Regions from separate parts of the Homo sapiens genome. Here region 1 is linked to region 2. The links are contacts of gene promoters, found by promoter capture Hi-C in blood cells and fetal thymus (Javierre and others, 2016). All regions are on one chromosome and are shown on one strand. Each heading gives the region's core, a stretch centred on a gene start or on the middle of the fragment in contact. The rest is flanking DNA. Distances are from core to core; before and after follow the strand shown. Region 1 holds the start of FMC1 (formation of mitochondrial complex V assembly factor 1). Region 2 holds the start of NCAPG2 (non-SMC condensin II complex subunit G2).

Region 1 (6,793 bases), core at 4,192-6,691, about 19 Mb before region 2:
ACAACCTGATAGTCAGGTTTCACCTCAGTAAATTATATACTTTTCCTCAAGTCTTTTTATTACAAACAGCATAGCAAATAAGAACTAAATAAATAAACTGTTTAGGTTTCCTTTTTTTTTTTTTTTTTTTTTTTTGAGACAGAGTTTCTCTCTTGTTGCCCAGGCTGGAGTGCAACGGCACCATCTCGGCTCACCGCAACCTCCACCCCCTGGGTTCAAGCGATTCTCCTACCTCAGCCTCCCAAGTAGCTGGGATTACAGTCATGCACCACCACACCCAGCTAATTTTGTATTTTTTTAGTAGAGACAGGGTTTCTCCATGTCAGTCTCGCTAGTCCCGAACTCCTGACCTCAGGTGATCCGCCTGCCTCGGCCTCCCAAGTGTTGGGATTACAGGCGTAAGCCACTGCGCCTGGCCAATTGTTTAGGTTTCTAAGAGTCTCAGGAAAACTGTCCTCCTTGGAGGTTCTATGTGATCTATCTCTATTTGACAATTACTGGAAAAATGATGGCAACTGAGACAGCTGCCTCAAGATATCATCACTCAGGTACGACATATTCCATAATGGTGGGCCATCTCCAAACAAAGCTAACAGCACTTTGCAGGTTCTGTCGTGGAGATCAGCTATTCCAGGGCCAGCCCCAAAGACCAAAGACCATAGCTCCACACGGGAGCTATATTACATCATCATAATGACCCAGATAGGTACCAAACTCTCTGGGTGATAGTTTTAATTTAATTTAATTAATTCATTAGTTTGAATAATTATTTTATTGTGTTTTAATGTTTTTACTCTTTTAAAACCTTCTGGCTGGGCGCAGGGGCTCATGCCTGTAATCCCAGCACTTTGGGAAGCCAAGGCAGGCAGATCACTTAAGGTCAAGAGTTTGAGACCAGCCGGGCCAAAATGGTGAAACCCCATCTTTACTGAAAATACAAAAAATTAGTCTGATGTGGTGGTGCACGCCTGTAATCCCAGCTACTCCGGAGGCTGAGGCAGGGGAATCGCTTGAACCTGGGAGGTGGAGATTGCAGTGAGCTGAGATCGCGCCACTGCACTCCAACCTGGGTGACAGAGCAAGACTCTGTCTCAAAAATAAATTAATTAATTAAATAAACCACTTCAAAAAGAAAAAAAATGTCTGGTGTGATGGCTCACGCCTGTAATCCTAGCACTTTGGGAGGCCAAGGCGGGTGTATCACTTGAGGTCAGGAGTTCGAGACCAGCGTGGCCAACATAGTGAAACCCCATCTCTATTAAAAATACAAAATTACCATCCTGGCTAACATGGTGAAACCCCGTCTCTACTAAAAATACAAAAAATTAGCTGGGCTTAGTGGCGGGTGCCTATAGTCCCAGCTACTCAGGAGGCTGAGGCAGGAGAATGACGTGAACCCGGGAGGCGGAGCTTGCAGTGAGCCAACATTGCGCCACTGCACTCCAGCCTGGGTGACAGAGCAAGACTCCGTCTCAAAACAAACAAACAAAATTAGCTGGGCATGATGGCATGCGCCTATAGTCCCAGCTACTCGGGAGGCTAAGGCAGGAGAATCACTTGAACCCGGGAGGCAGAGGTTGCAGTGAGCTGAGATCTTGCCACTGCACTCCAGCCTGAGCAACAGAGTGAGACTCCATCTCAAAAACAAAACAAAACAAAACAGAAACACCTTCACAAAAAGAAAAAAAATTTTTTTTGAGACAGGGTCTCACTCTGATACCCACGCTGGAGTGTAGTAGCGTGATCAAGGCTCACCACAGGCTCAAGCGATCCTCCCACCTCAGCCTCCCAAGTAGCTGGGAATACAGGCACACACCACCATACCTAGCTAAGTTTAAAATTTTTTTTGTAGAAGTGGGTTTTCGCTGTTGCCCAGGCTGGTCTCAAACTTCTGAGCTCAAGCAATCCATCTGCCTCAGCCTCTCAAAGTGCTGGGATTACAGGCGTGGGCCACTGCTCCCAACAATTATTATTATTTTAGAGACAGTGTCTTGGTGTCACCTAGGGTGCCATGCAGTGGAGAGATAATAGCTCAATGCAGCCTTGAACTTCTGGGCTAAGTGATCCTCAAACTACTGCATAGCTAGAACTACGGTCACGCACCACCATATATACATCGATTTTTTTTATAGAGACAGAGTCTTGCTTTGTTGCCAGGCTCCTGGGAGATTTAATTCTATCACTGTACACTCGGTTAAATAATTAGTTGGTGTGTCTAGCCAAAAAGTAGTATCCGAAAACCCTCAGTATCTGGAAATACGTACGAGTGGGGAACTTTTTTTTTTAGACAGGCTCGCACTCGCTGTGTCACCTAGGCTGGAGTGCAACCTCTGCCTCCTGGGTTCAAGCAATTCTCCTGCCTCAGCTTCCAGAGTAGCTGGGACTACAAGCACGCACCGCCACACCCAGCTAATTTTTGTATTTTTAGTGGAGAATGTGTTTTTGCCACGTTGGCCAGGCTGGTCTTGAACTCCTGGCCTCAAGTGATCCGCCCCCCCTTGAGCCTCCCAAAGTGCTGGGATTACAGGCGTGAGCCACAGCACCCGGCCAAGAGTGGGGAACATTTAAAATGGTAATCTTGAGAAGGCTGTTTAAGATGTGTAAGTTCCTTAATTTAGCCAGTGTGGTAATCAGCTGAGGGTGCTGAAGAGTGACCTATAATGAGGCTGGGTTTTGAACAGAATCTCACATGTTAATACAAATGAGTTTATTATATTTTGTATTTATTATCAGGAGCATTTTTTTCCTAAAGATAAGGCAGGGTATCAGGCTAAGGAGATGATAGGAAAGAAAAAAATCATTTAAAAACTTAAAAAGACAATATAGTTGTAAAAATTTTTCTAAAAAGAAAAAATAAAAAGGCAGGATCATCAAACCAGCTTTTTTTCCCACGAACTAGGCACGCCACATGTTTTTTACCTTTTCTTAACTTCAAATCCTATCGCCCTTTTTTTCTTCTTTCTTTACAGACTAGAAGTCTGTGGGCTGTTTGGCATGCAGTACTTTTAAAGTATTCATTAGTGGCCAATATTTAGAAGGAAATCTATAGCATTAAAACAGATTTCCAGAGTTTCCTGAAAAAAAAAAAGGTTTTTAAAGGATTTGCTTTCCTAAAATGGCAACAATCAGTGGAGGTGAGTAATGGCTGCCCCCTGGACAGGTGGGCTAGTTGCTGTCCAGTTCACCAGGTTTCCAACCAAGCCAGCTTTACTCATTAATGAACAATTGATGTTCCATTTGTTTGTCATTCCTGCTCAGTAGCTTATGTCTCCTAGCCACTGGGGCCAGACAGTGCCAATCCCTTTAGGAGCTTCAGACTAAGCTGTTATGACTATGCTACCAAGGAATAAGCCTGGTGAAGAAACAGGCTTTTCTGTTAGGCACAGGGCTTTCGGAGCTGAACAATTTCCCAGTCTGATGGAAGAGACTGACAACTACAGTATGGAGTAGTGGCCATGTACCTACATTAAGAGTTATTTACGATGAGTAAATAAAGGGAGCAACAGGGGACCAGAGGAGGTGAAATGAATAATTTTCACCTTGCCGTATTGACTTCAAGGGCCTGGAGAAGCGTCTAACCTAGACTTCTGGAGTAAGCTGAAGCCCAAAGGGTAAAGAGGCATATTAATACAAATGGTTAAGTTTCAGGCAGAGGGAATATCAGGTAAGGTGTGTGGTGGGGAAGAGACAATGAAAGTGGAGATACCTGGAGCAGAGGGTGATAAGCGAAAAGTGAGAGATGAAGATTAAGGTACAAGCGAGGATCAATTTATGTCGTCTGAGCTTTATCTTAGGGACAATGGGAAGCCCCTGTGATACTATAAGGGTAAGTTTACTGGGACTCCGAAGTGATTTGTTCGTTATACAATTAGGAACAGAACCAAAAAATGAACTGCTAATTTTTAAAATTAATTCCTAATCAATGTACTATTACTTCCCCGCTGTCCCATGTTTATCGCTGACGCACCAATTCAAAGGACACGGCACATGTTTCTTTTTTTTTTTGAGATGGAGTTTCGCTCCTGTTGCCCAGGCTAGAGAGCAATGGCGCGATCTCGGCTCACTACAACCTCCGACTCCAGGGTTCAAGCAATTCTCCTGCCTCAGCCTCCGGAGTAGCTGGGATTACAGGCATGCGCCACCACGCCCGGCTAATTCTGTATTTTTAGTAGAGACAGGGTTTCTCTGTGTTGGTCAGGCTGGTTTCAAACCCCCGACCTAAGATGATCCGCCCGCCTCGGCCTCCCAAAGTACTGGTATTACAGGCGTGCGCCACCACGCCCGGCCTGCGGAAATGGCCTCAACGCTTCAACCGGAAGCAGAAATTGACCGCGGCAGGCGCCATCTAACGGCCGCTGGAGCAAAGCTCCTCCTGGAAATTCGCAACACCGGAAAAGGTCCGGCTGCTTCCGGTAAAAACCCACCAGAGCTGACGTTCAGAGGGCGAGTCTCGAAGATCCGGCCAATTTGCCCAGCGCGCTGTGCTCCGCGACGGCGCATGCCCGCTTTTGCGCAGGCGCGGGGACTACGGCGCAGGCGCGGAGACTATTGCGCAGGCAAGCGCGTACGCAGAAGCGTGCGCGCGCCCGTTCAACGTCCGGAGCATCGGTGCAGTTTCGAGGGTAAAGCCTTTGGCGCGGTGATGTGGACTTTTGTTCTCTAACTACAACTCCCAGCATACGTCACCCCTCACGTGGGCGCTAGGTGTGGTTTCGTGGGATAGGGTAAGGCGAAAATGAAGTGACGATGACGTACCAAAGAGGAAAATAGTTGAATATGTTGTGTGAGCGCGTCGTTTGCAGAAGCCCCAGTGGCCTAATGGATAAGGCATTGGCCTCCTAAGCCAGGGATTGTGGGTTCGAGTCCCATCTGGGGTGGCCTGTGACTTTTGTCCTTTTTTCCCCTTTCTAAACAAAGCGAAATATGCCAACTTTACTTTTTTTTTTTTTAAATGGGAAGTGTGTGTGTGTTTTTACTAGCTGGTGGGCTGCAATTTTCGAGAATCTGCACACACCCATGTCCTTTGTCTGAGCCGCAGGTCCCCTGGGATTTGGGGAGACGTCAATACGTTGAATTTTGATATCCCTTTTATAAATCATTTAAAAATGTCTTCTCAGCGTGTTCCATATCAAATCCACACCCACACCCCCCGCCGGGCCCGCTTCTCCTGAGACTCAGCGGTTGGTCGGCTAACGGGCATCTTCAATGACGCAGTGAAGAAAAGCCCCTGTTTCCCCAAACCCTTGTTCTGGGTTAGAGGTCCTGGTACCTTCAGTTAACAGTCGGGTTTCGTTTGATTTTGTTACGGCGCCCCTGGGCCTTCGATTAATAAGGTTCGGTCAACGGACAAGTGAGCGGTTCCACTGCTCGTCAGTCGATAGGGGGAGTCGGTAGTCTGTCCGACCGTACCATTAGGCGCCTGGGCCGGAGGAGGGGTTTTCAGGGTCGTAGGACGCCGTTGGGCACCACGCTCGGAGAAGGACAGGACAATGGCGGCCTTAGGGTCCCCGTCGCACACTTTTCGAGGACTTCTGCGGGAGTTGCGCTACCTGAGCGCGGCCACCGGCCGACCCTATCGCGACACCGCGGCCTATCGGTACCTTGTGAAGGCTTTCCGTGCACATCGGGTACGGGAGCCATGTCCCGGGTGCTCTACGTGCTGGGGAGGGAGGAAGAGCCGGGTCTGGGCTAGGGTGGGGAGCACGGTGTTTAATTCCTGCATTTCTGAGGCCAACCCTCCCACGGAGCCCTGGTTCTGACCAAACCAACCCAGGCCCTAGGCTCCATGCTCTGGCATAAACTCGGGGACCAAAGGACCAGCGGGGGGGGGCGCAGAGTCGCTCTGGGGACGTCAGCCTGTCCTGCAGAGGGGCGGACCCGTCCCGAAGGATTTCATTGGCTGGTCTGTTGCCTCTGCGGAGGGCAGTCAGGAAAGTGGAATGGAGGATTCAATGCTGGGGATAAAACAATGAAGATGGAGTTGAAGGGTGTACTGTTGCTAGACTTAAAGCCACAGCATCTGGCCAACAATTTCCTCACCCGTCCCCTAGAAAAGTTATTCTAAGAAGCATTTCTTTTTGAGGCGGAAAAGAACAACTGGGCTTTAGGGAAGGAAACTTGCTGCCCTTGAGCAATGTGGGGAAAGGGAGAACGATCAACTGTCGAATTTCTGAGCCACGGACGTCAGAATGTAAAATCTTAGAACTCAAATTCACCTAGTTTTTAAAAGGTGGCAACGTTAGGGTCTGTGCTAGGAACCTGGTCTAAACAGGAAGAATCAGATGCACATGTGTCCTGTCCTTAAGACACTTGCTGCCCACCTAAGGAGCCATACAGTAAAGTACTGAGGATAAATAAGTGCTCAAGGTGTAGACAACAGGGGCTGGGGTATAAAGAAGGGGTAGTTAGGGAAGGTTTTCCGGAGGAAATTAATCAGGGACCTGAAGGCTAATTTGGAGTTAGCAAGTAAATTGGGGTTAGGGTCCAGGTTTAAAAGCTACACAATTGAAAGCCCAAGGGGAGAAAAATTGCCAGTTGAGAGTGGTTTAGCCCTAAGGTGTGGTGGGTGAAGTGGAGGTAGATGAAGTGGTAGGCCGAACAGGAACTTAAACTTTATTGTAAGTGTAATGGGAAGCCATTCTAAGATTGTGATCACCTCCCAGGTTCAAGCGATTCTCCTGCCTCAGCCTCCCGAGTAGTACAGGCAGGCGACATGCGACACCACGCCCGGCTAATTTTGTATTTTTAGTGGAGACGGGGTTTCTCCATGTTGGTCAGGCTGGTCTTGAACTCC
Region 2 (6,572 bases), core at 3,486-5,985:
TATCAAATTGAACTATGGGAAACCATCATTATTATATAAAATGGCATTTCTGTCATTCAACTTGATGAAACCACGTGATGCACAATCCTACACATTTTCATTTTTACACGTAAGAGCCACACGGTGACTAGGTACTAAGCTGAACTGTTAAGTGTTAATAAAGCTTATTGATAAACTAGAGTTAATGCCTCATTAGTATAAGGACTAATTCAGTATTCTCCTGAGATGTCTGCTGGCTTTCCAGCAACACTGCAAAGGCTGGTTGGCACACAACGGGTGGCTGGAAACAACGCACCCCAGAAGGGCACCTGTCATTGTGGCCACCAGTGTGATTTTGAGTTGCTATTTTTACCTCTGATTTTCAATTTAGTTTTCTGTGATTTTGTTAACATTATGGTATGCACTTTGCAACAACAATCTTTTAGACTTTAAAATATGTATGTACTGCATTTCCAATACAATCCATATACACTGCTACTGCTAAAGCAGACATTTATATATTATCTAACTAATTTGCTCTTATAAACACTTCTATGGTGATGAGATGCCTATGAGTTTGCGATTATTTTTAAGTTTACAGGATATCATTTTATAATACCAAAACATGTTATAAGCTCATTTCTCTTATAAAGAAAAATGATTTCTTAAATGTTGCCAGTAACAAATTCATTATTAGATTCCTCTAATTCTTTGTCACTAATTTGATTTTCACCACATAATAAGAACAAGTGAGACAAGTGTGCCAAGGGTCTCCTGCCCCAAAGATACTTTCGTATTTCAGAGTCAGTGCCTCCAATGCTGGCTTCCTCAGAGATGTGTCCTAGGCCCTTTTATCTGAAACTCTACAGAGATAACTGCAGGCATTCCCATGACTTAGGCTTCCATGCCCAACCTGTCTCTAGCTCAGCCCTTTCCCCTGGTATCCAGACGTGCATGTCTGACTACTGGCCATCCGCTGGTGCACATCCCACCACCAGTCATCTGGTACCTCCAAAATGGAGCCACATTCTCCCTTGAATCTGCCCTCTTCCCACGTTCATGAGCTTGCTGAATGGTACTACACAGTCAGACGCCTGGGCCCTTCCCCACCATATCCATATCCAATCAGTCCAATAGTGCCATCACTTCACTACCAAGCAGCTTCCCATTTCCAGTTCCTAATTCAACCATCATTTTGAAGAGCACAACCTAAGAGGTTAGCCTTAAATATGTCCCTTTGACATATTTCTCACTTGTAGTCAGAGGAATATTTCCAAAAGGCAAACCATATTTTTCTCCTTACCTCTATTTTGTCCACTAGTTCTCTCTCCTTCTCTTTTGTTCTCTTCCTCCCTTGCCTACAGCTCGCTCCCTGCTTCAAGCACCCACCGTTCTCAAGATAAAGTCTGAATTCCTTAAAATGGTAAAGACTCGTGTAGCCTAGCCCCCAGCCTCATCTTCTGCCTTCCTGCTGAACTTCAAGTTCAAACACAACAAACCTTCTCTAGTCTTCAGAGTGACCTTCTTTGTTAGATGGGTCCTTTCCCCCAACATCCCTCTTTGACTGGTTAACTTCTGTTTATCTTTTACATCTTAGCGTAGCCCACCAGCAGGTAGATTTGAGTATAAAGGGTTTTGTTTTCTTCTTTCAAATAAACATTGGTCGCTAAGGATTCACTGAGATAACTATGTTTCTTTTGGGGACATAATGACTTTAGAACATATTTCATATTCACAGTCAAAAATCACAACAAAACTAAAACATGAAACTTACATCAAGTTGAACAAATTGCAAAAACTCTCCAACCAGCTCCTTAGACACGGCTTGTACAAACGTCTCACGTTTTTCCATGACAGATGGCACTGTTCAAATGGCATTTATTTTGTAACCCTAATGGAAAACACAATCATACTGAAACACTTGCAAATATATCTTTTCCTGTAAGATTTAATTTGATATTAACATCCAAGAACTGCAAGAAAATTCCTCAACCACGTATGGCAGACAGTTTCTAAAAACATTCTGACATAAAACACGCTATAATATCTGAAAAACAATTTACTTATTTCCTTTACTGGGGATGTGAATAACATGATATTAATGATATTTTATCAACAATTGTTAATAAAATTACCAACTAAGGAGGGAGAAATCCAAATAGCCTTAGGAAGCTCACCACCATCTCTCCCTTTTTAGTACCTTAGCAAGATGCTGGCTCGGCAGAGCTGAGTTGATTCAACAAAAGAACAATCTGATCCCAGCTGCAGATTCTGAAGATGCTCCCTTTCTAAAGGCCATTCCTCCATCAAAAAAATCCCACTGTTAGTGTCATCTTGTTATTCAAAGTGAGATGGAAAACAGTGGCCCCGGGGGTCACCTGGGATCTTGTTAGACTATGCATTAGGCATGCTCAACCACAGCACCCTCCTCCCACCCCTTCGGGATAATGAGAGCTCAGGGGACTTTGTATACCCTCCATCCTGCCTGTGTTTTTCCAGGAAATTCTATTTCGCATTCACAATACCTGGTGCTACTGGTGCCCTACTGAAAAAACATCAACCTAAAGATGAGGTAATAGCAAATGATGGAACACATTTGCAGTAGGAGCCCCCTCACTTTAAAAATAAATGAAAACCACCTGCACCATTATAAATAGAGCAATATGGAAAATTATTGCCAATAATTATGGGGACAGAGAGTCATCTTAAACATATAATACTAGATTTTAATGTCCAAATTGAACAAAGCAAAAATAACCTCAGTTTAATGACTCCCGAAATAAGTTAACAGTGAAGTCTGGTCATCTCATTCCTCAACTCAAATGGCTGAACTATGAACTACGGTCATGGACCACATAACATTTCAGTCAACAACAGACCACATGTATGACCGTGGTCCCATAAGATTATAATGCCATATTTTTACTGTGCTTTTTCTATGCTTAGATATGTTTAGCGATGCAAATACTTGCCATTGTATTACAGTTGCCTACAGTATTCAGTACAGTAACATTCTAGGAGCAGTAGGCTACACCATACAGCCTATGTGTGTAGGCTACACCTCTAGGTGTAGGCAAGTCCACTCTGTGATGTTCATGCAATGATGAAATTGCCTAACGACAACGTGTCTCCCTCTTTAAATCAAGCATGACTGGCACATTTTTCACTGACAAAGAAAATGGGGAGGGAAGGGAGAGTGGCCAGTAACAAGCATAATGAATAGTGGCTAGGACAAATTCATGATTTTAGAAAAATAATCCAATAAGGTGCAGCAAACACATGGAATCATACATCTTCGCCCGGCAAGTCTGTGAACACTCTCCACTTTTTCATAGTTCTGGTCACTTTTCTTGTTTGCTCTATTTCCAAGTGTACCTCTTTGGCATGTTAGTCCAACTTACAGTAATACACTTCCTCTAGACTACCAAACTTATTCCTATATTTCCCATTTTCCCTCTTATATTAGTGACTGTAATTTTTTAATGGTTAATTTTTCAATCTATCTCCCAAAGTGGCAATATTCCATGTTTCTTGTACCATATGTGCATAAGACCTCAGCCCTGCAGCCAGAATGCTACTTTCAAGGTAAGGAGTCATCTCACCATCCAGTTATCAGTCCGAAGAGCAGGTTACTCTTCGCACAGGAGGTCTGGTACTAAATCAAGATGAGCATTAAAAAGAAGAAATCCCTGTTACCTTCTCACCACCTGTGACTTCCCACTCCGTCCCCAAACTCCTTCCTCATGGACACAACAAGAGGCACCAAACCAGCAACAAGAGTTCAGGAGACTGATGTCTCTGAGGACAATGCCCACGTCCACAGCTGGGGAGATACTCTCTGAGGGCAGTGCCTACACCCAGGGCTCAGGGGGACTCTCTCTAAGGGCAGTACCGACACCCAGGACTGAGGGGACTCTCTCTGAGGGCAGTTCCCATGCCCAGGACAGAGGGGGTCGCTCTCTGAGGGCAGTGCCCATGCCCAGGACTGAGGGGACGCTCTCTGAGGGCAGTGCCCATGCTCAGGACTGAGGGGGTCGCTCTCTGAGGGTAGTGCCCATGCCCAGGACTGAGGGGACGCTCTCTGAGGGCAGTGCCCATGCCCAGGACTGAGGGGGTCGCTCTCTGAGGGCAGTGCCCATGCTCAGGACTGAGGGGGTCGCTCTCTGAGGGTAGTGCCCATGCCCAGGACTGAGGGGACGCTCTCTGAGGGCAGTGCCCATGCTCAGGACTGAGGGGGTCGCTCTCTGAGGGTAGTGCCCATGCCCAGGACTGAGGGGACACTCTCTGAGGGCAGTTCCCATGCCCAGGACAGAGGAGGTCGCTCTCTGAGGGCAGTGCCCATGCCCAGGACTGAGGGGACACTCTCTGAGGACGGTGCCCATGCTCAGGGCTGGGGGGTCGCTCTCTGAGGGCAGTGCCCGCGCCCGGGGCTGGGATTTTCCTCCGACACGGACAAGAAGGACGGGCGTCGCTGAGCTGGGTAGGGGGGATGGCCCGGGGTCGCCAGTTCCGTCCAGTTCCGTCAGAGGCAGCACTGCCCGCACGCAGGTCGGCCGCCTCCTTAGGGGAGGGGAGGCTGGGACCCCGACCAGCCGAGGAGGGGCTTCCCGCCCGATCCCTGCTACTTCCCAGCCCCTGCTCTGAACCCAATCCCGGCTCGGCACCGCAGCTCTTACCTGGGCTCGGGGACCCGCCGTTTCCCGCGCTCGGACCAGATTCAAACGCACCCGCCGGCGCCCCAGACGGGCCCCGCCCTCCCGGTCGTCATCAGGCGCCGCTCTCGCGAGAGCTGGGGCGCCGCGAGCCTCGGGCCTCGCCCACACGCCCGGCCCGCCCCGCCTCCAGATCATGCCCCGCCCACATGCCCGCCAGTCTTCTTCCTGTCTATGCCCCGCCTCTTAGGGCGCGGCCTCGAGCAGCTAAGCCCAGTGCCCTACCGGGCACTACGGAACGCGCACGCGGGGCGCCACAGCTGGGGAACCCATGCCCGGTCCGCGCGCCGACGTCCACTGCGCGCTCGTGCGCGTCCTGGGGCCTCCGCGGAGGGAGTGCGCGGTCCAGGAGAGGGCGGGGCGCTGCGAGCGGGCGGTGTTGTGGGAAGGAGGAAGGAGAGGAAGAGAGAGAGGGGGAGAGAAAGGAAAGGCTTGGGGCGGGGAGAGGCCACAGGGCCGTGTCTGGATCCCCGGGAGGACCCCACCCCGACCTGGCCGGCCCCCGTGACCGCCCTCCCTGCCGAGGGGGCACCTGTCCGGGTGGTCCGCAGCCTGCACACGGTAGGTGCACCCTGGGCAGGTGCTTCCCCCGCAGGAGCCCCTCCGGCCAGGTGCGGCCCCTAACAGGTGCTTCTCCTGCAGTTGCTCCTCCAGCAGGTGAGGCCCCCGGCAGGTCAGCTGCCCATAGGGTGGAGAGGGAGAGGCCTTAGCGGGGACCCTCGGAGGCACCCGTGTGAAGGAGGAGTAGCAATGTCATTCAATTCTTTGGACTTAAATGCCAAAATCACATACTGATGTATCAATCTCTTTTAATTTGTGTCAGCGAATAACTTGATTGGGCGTTCCCAATTTTTGTTGAAAGCAAATTCTTAGAAAACGGTGCTCTTTACCACCGAGCTCTGCATCCCTTCGTGAGGACTTGGCCTTCCCTGGAGCTATATTCTTTCATGCTTGAGATGTCTAGAGTGGTATCTGTTTTCCTGGCTTAACTCAAGCCAGAGGTCTTGGCGAGATTGAAGTCGTTGCACTGTGGGAGCACAGCACCAACCAATAGGAACATCATGGGAGCCACAAGTGCACTTGTAAATTTCTAGTGACCACATTAGAAAAATGAAGATAAATAGGTGACATTAATTTTTAAATATGTTTTATTTAGCCTAGTATATCAAAAATATTTATGTTACTTGTTGGAATATCGTTTCAACAAGCAATATAAAATTATAGCAGGGAGAAGACTGGTTTACTAGGAAGCTTGCAACAGTGAAGCAAGGCAGGCTGCAGAGGGGAGGGAGAAGACCCACTCAGAGGATGCTGAGTCTGGGACCCTTGTCAACAGGTGGCCGATATCTAACATTGCCTATTTCATCCTGGGGCTCCAGCCACCTCTGACCTCCTCCTCCCTCCATACACAGATCCTTCCCTGCCATTTCTTGAATTTTGGTGCCCTCATCTTCTCACTGCTTTCTTCTTAGCAATTTCCTTCATATCCAAGGTGCAAACTGCCACCTTCAAGCAGTGACCTCTGCATCTGGATTTGCAAGACACGGTTATTTCTGAACTCCAGAATTTTCAACAGCTCACTGCCTACTCCCACGCTGGTGCTGACATGCATCCAAAACAGATATCGACTTCCCCTCCCACCCCTGAATCCTGCCCCTTTCCTTATGCTGGTCCCTCCTCCAATCAGCCATCTGTTCCTGGGGTTTCCACTTCCTGAGTAGGAATAATGTAACAAGTTACGCATGTGAGCTCTGAAGCTGTACCACCTGGGCTAACCTGGTTCTGTGCTCACTAGCTGGTGACCTTTGACAAGCCATGGACGACTGAGCCTCAGTTTCCTCATCTATCAAATGGGACCTACTTAAGTACTGAGCCTCCTCT

What was found. Contacts are between HindIII fragments. The CHiCAGO score rates a contact against its expected background, and 5 or more counts as called.
Region 1: a contact is called between the fragment with the promoter of FMC1 here and the fragment with the promoter of NCAPG2 in region 2, in 1 of 17 cell types (neutrophils). The highest score is 5.6, in neutrophils.

The regions. Positions count from the first base shown.
Region 1 is chr7:139,335,896-139,342,688 of GRCh38, forward strand. It overlaps FMC1 (formation of mitochondrial complex V assembly factor 1), which reads left to right and starts at 5,442. Exons shown (of 2, transcript NM_197964.5): 1 at 5,442-5,627. The coding sequence starts at 5,490. FMC1-LUC7L2 (FMC1-LUC7L2 readthrough) reads left to right here and starts at 5,442. Exons shown (of 11, transcript NM_001244584.3): 1 at 5,442-5,627. The coding sequence starts at 5,490. TRR-CCT4-1 (tRNA-Arg (anticodon CCT) 4-1) reads left to right here and starts at 4,805; the gene lies at 4,805-4,877. It also overlaps a transcript of LUC7L2 not described here. RefSeq lists enhancers at 4,623-4,682, 4,993-5,062, 5,093-5,162, 5,418-5,985, 5,433-5,682. The HindIII fragment of the contact is 22,532 bases long and covers 1-6,793 here.
Region 2 is chr7:158,700,069-158,706,640 of GRCh38, forward strand. NCAPG2 (non-SMC condensin II complex subunit G2) reads right to left here and starts at 4,736. Exons shown (of 28, transcript NM_017760.7): 1 at 4,656-4,736; 2 at 1,754-1,870. The coding sequence starts at 1,831. RefSeq lists an enhancer at 3,497-4,075 and silencers at 4,653-4,752, 4,903-4,992, 5,113-5,392. The HindIII fragment of the contact is 5,779 bases long and covers 162-5,940 here.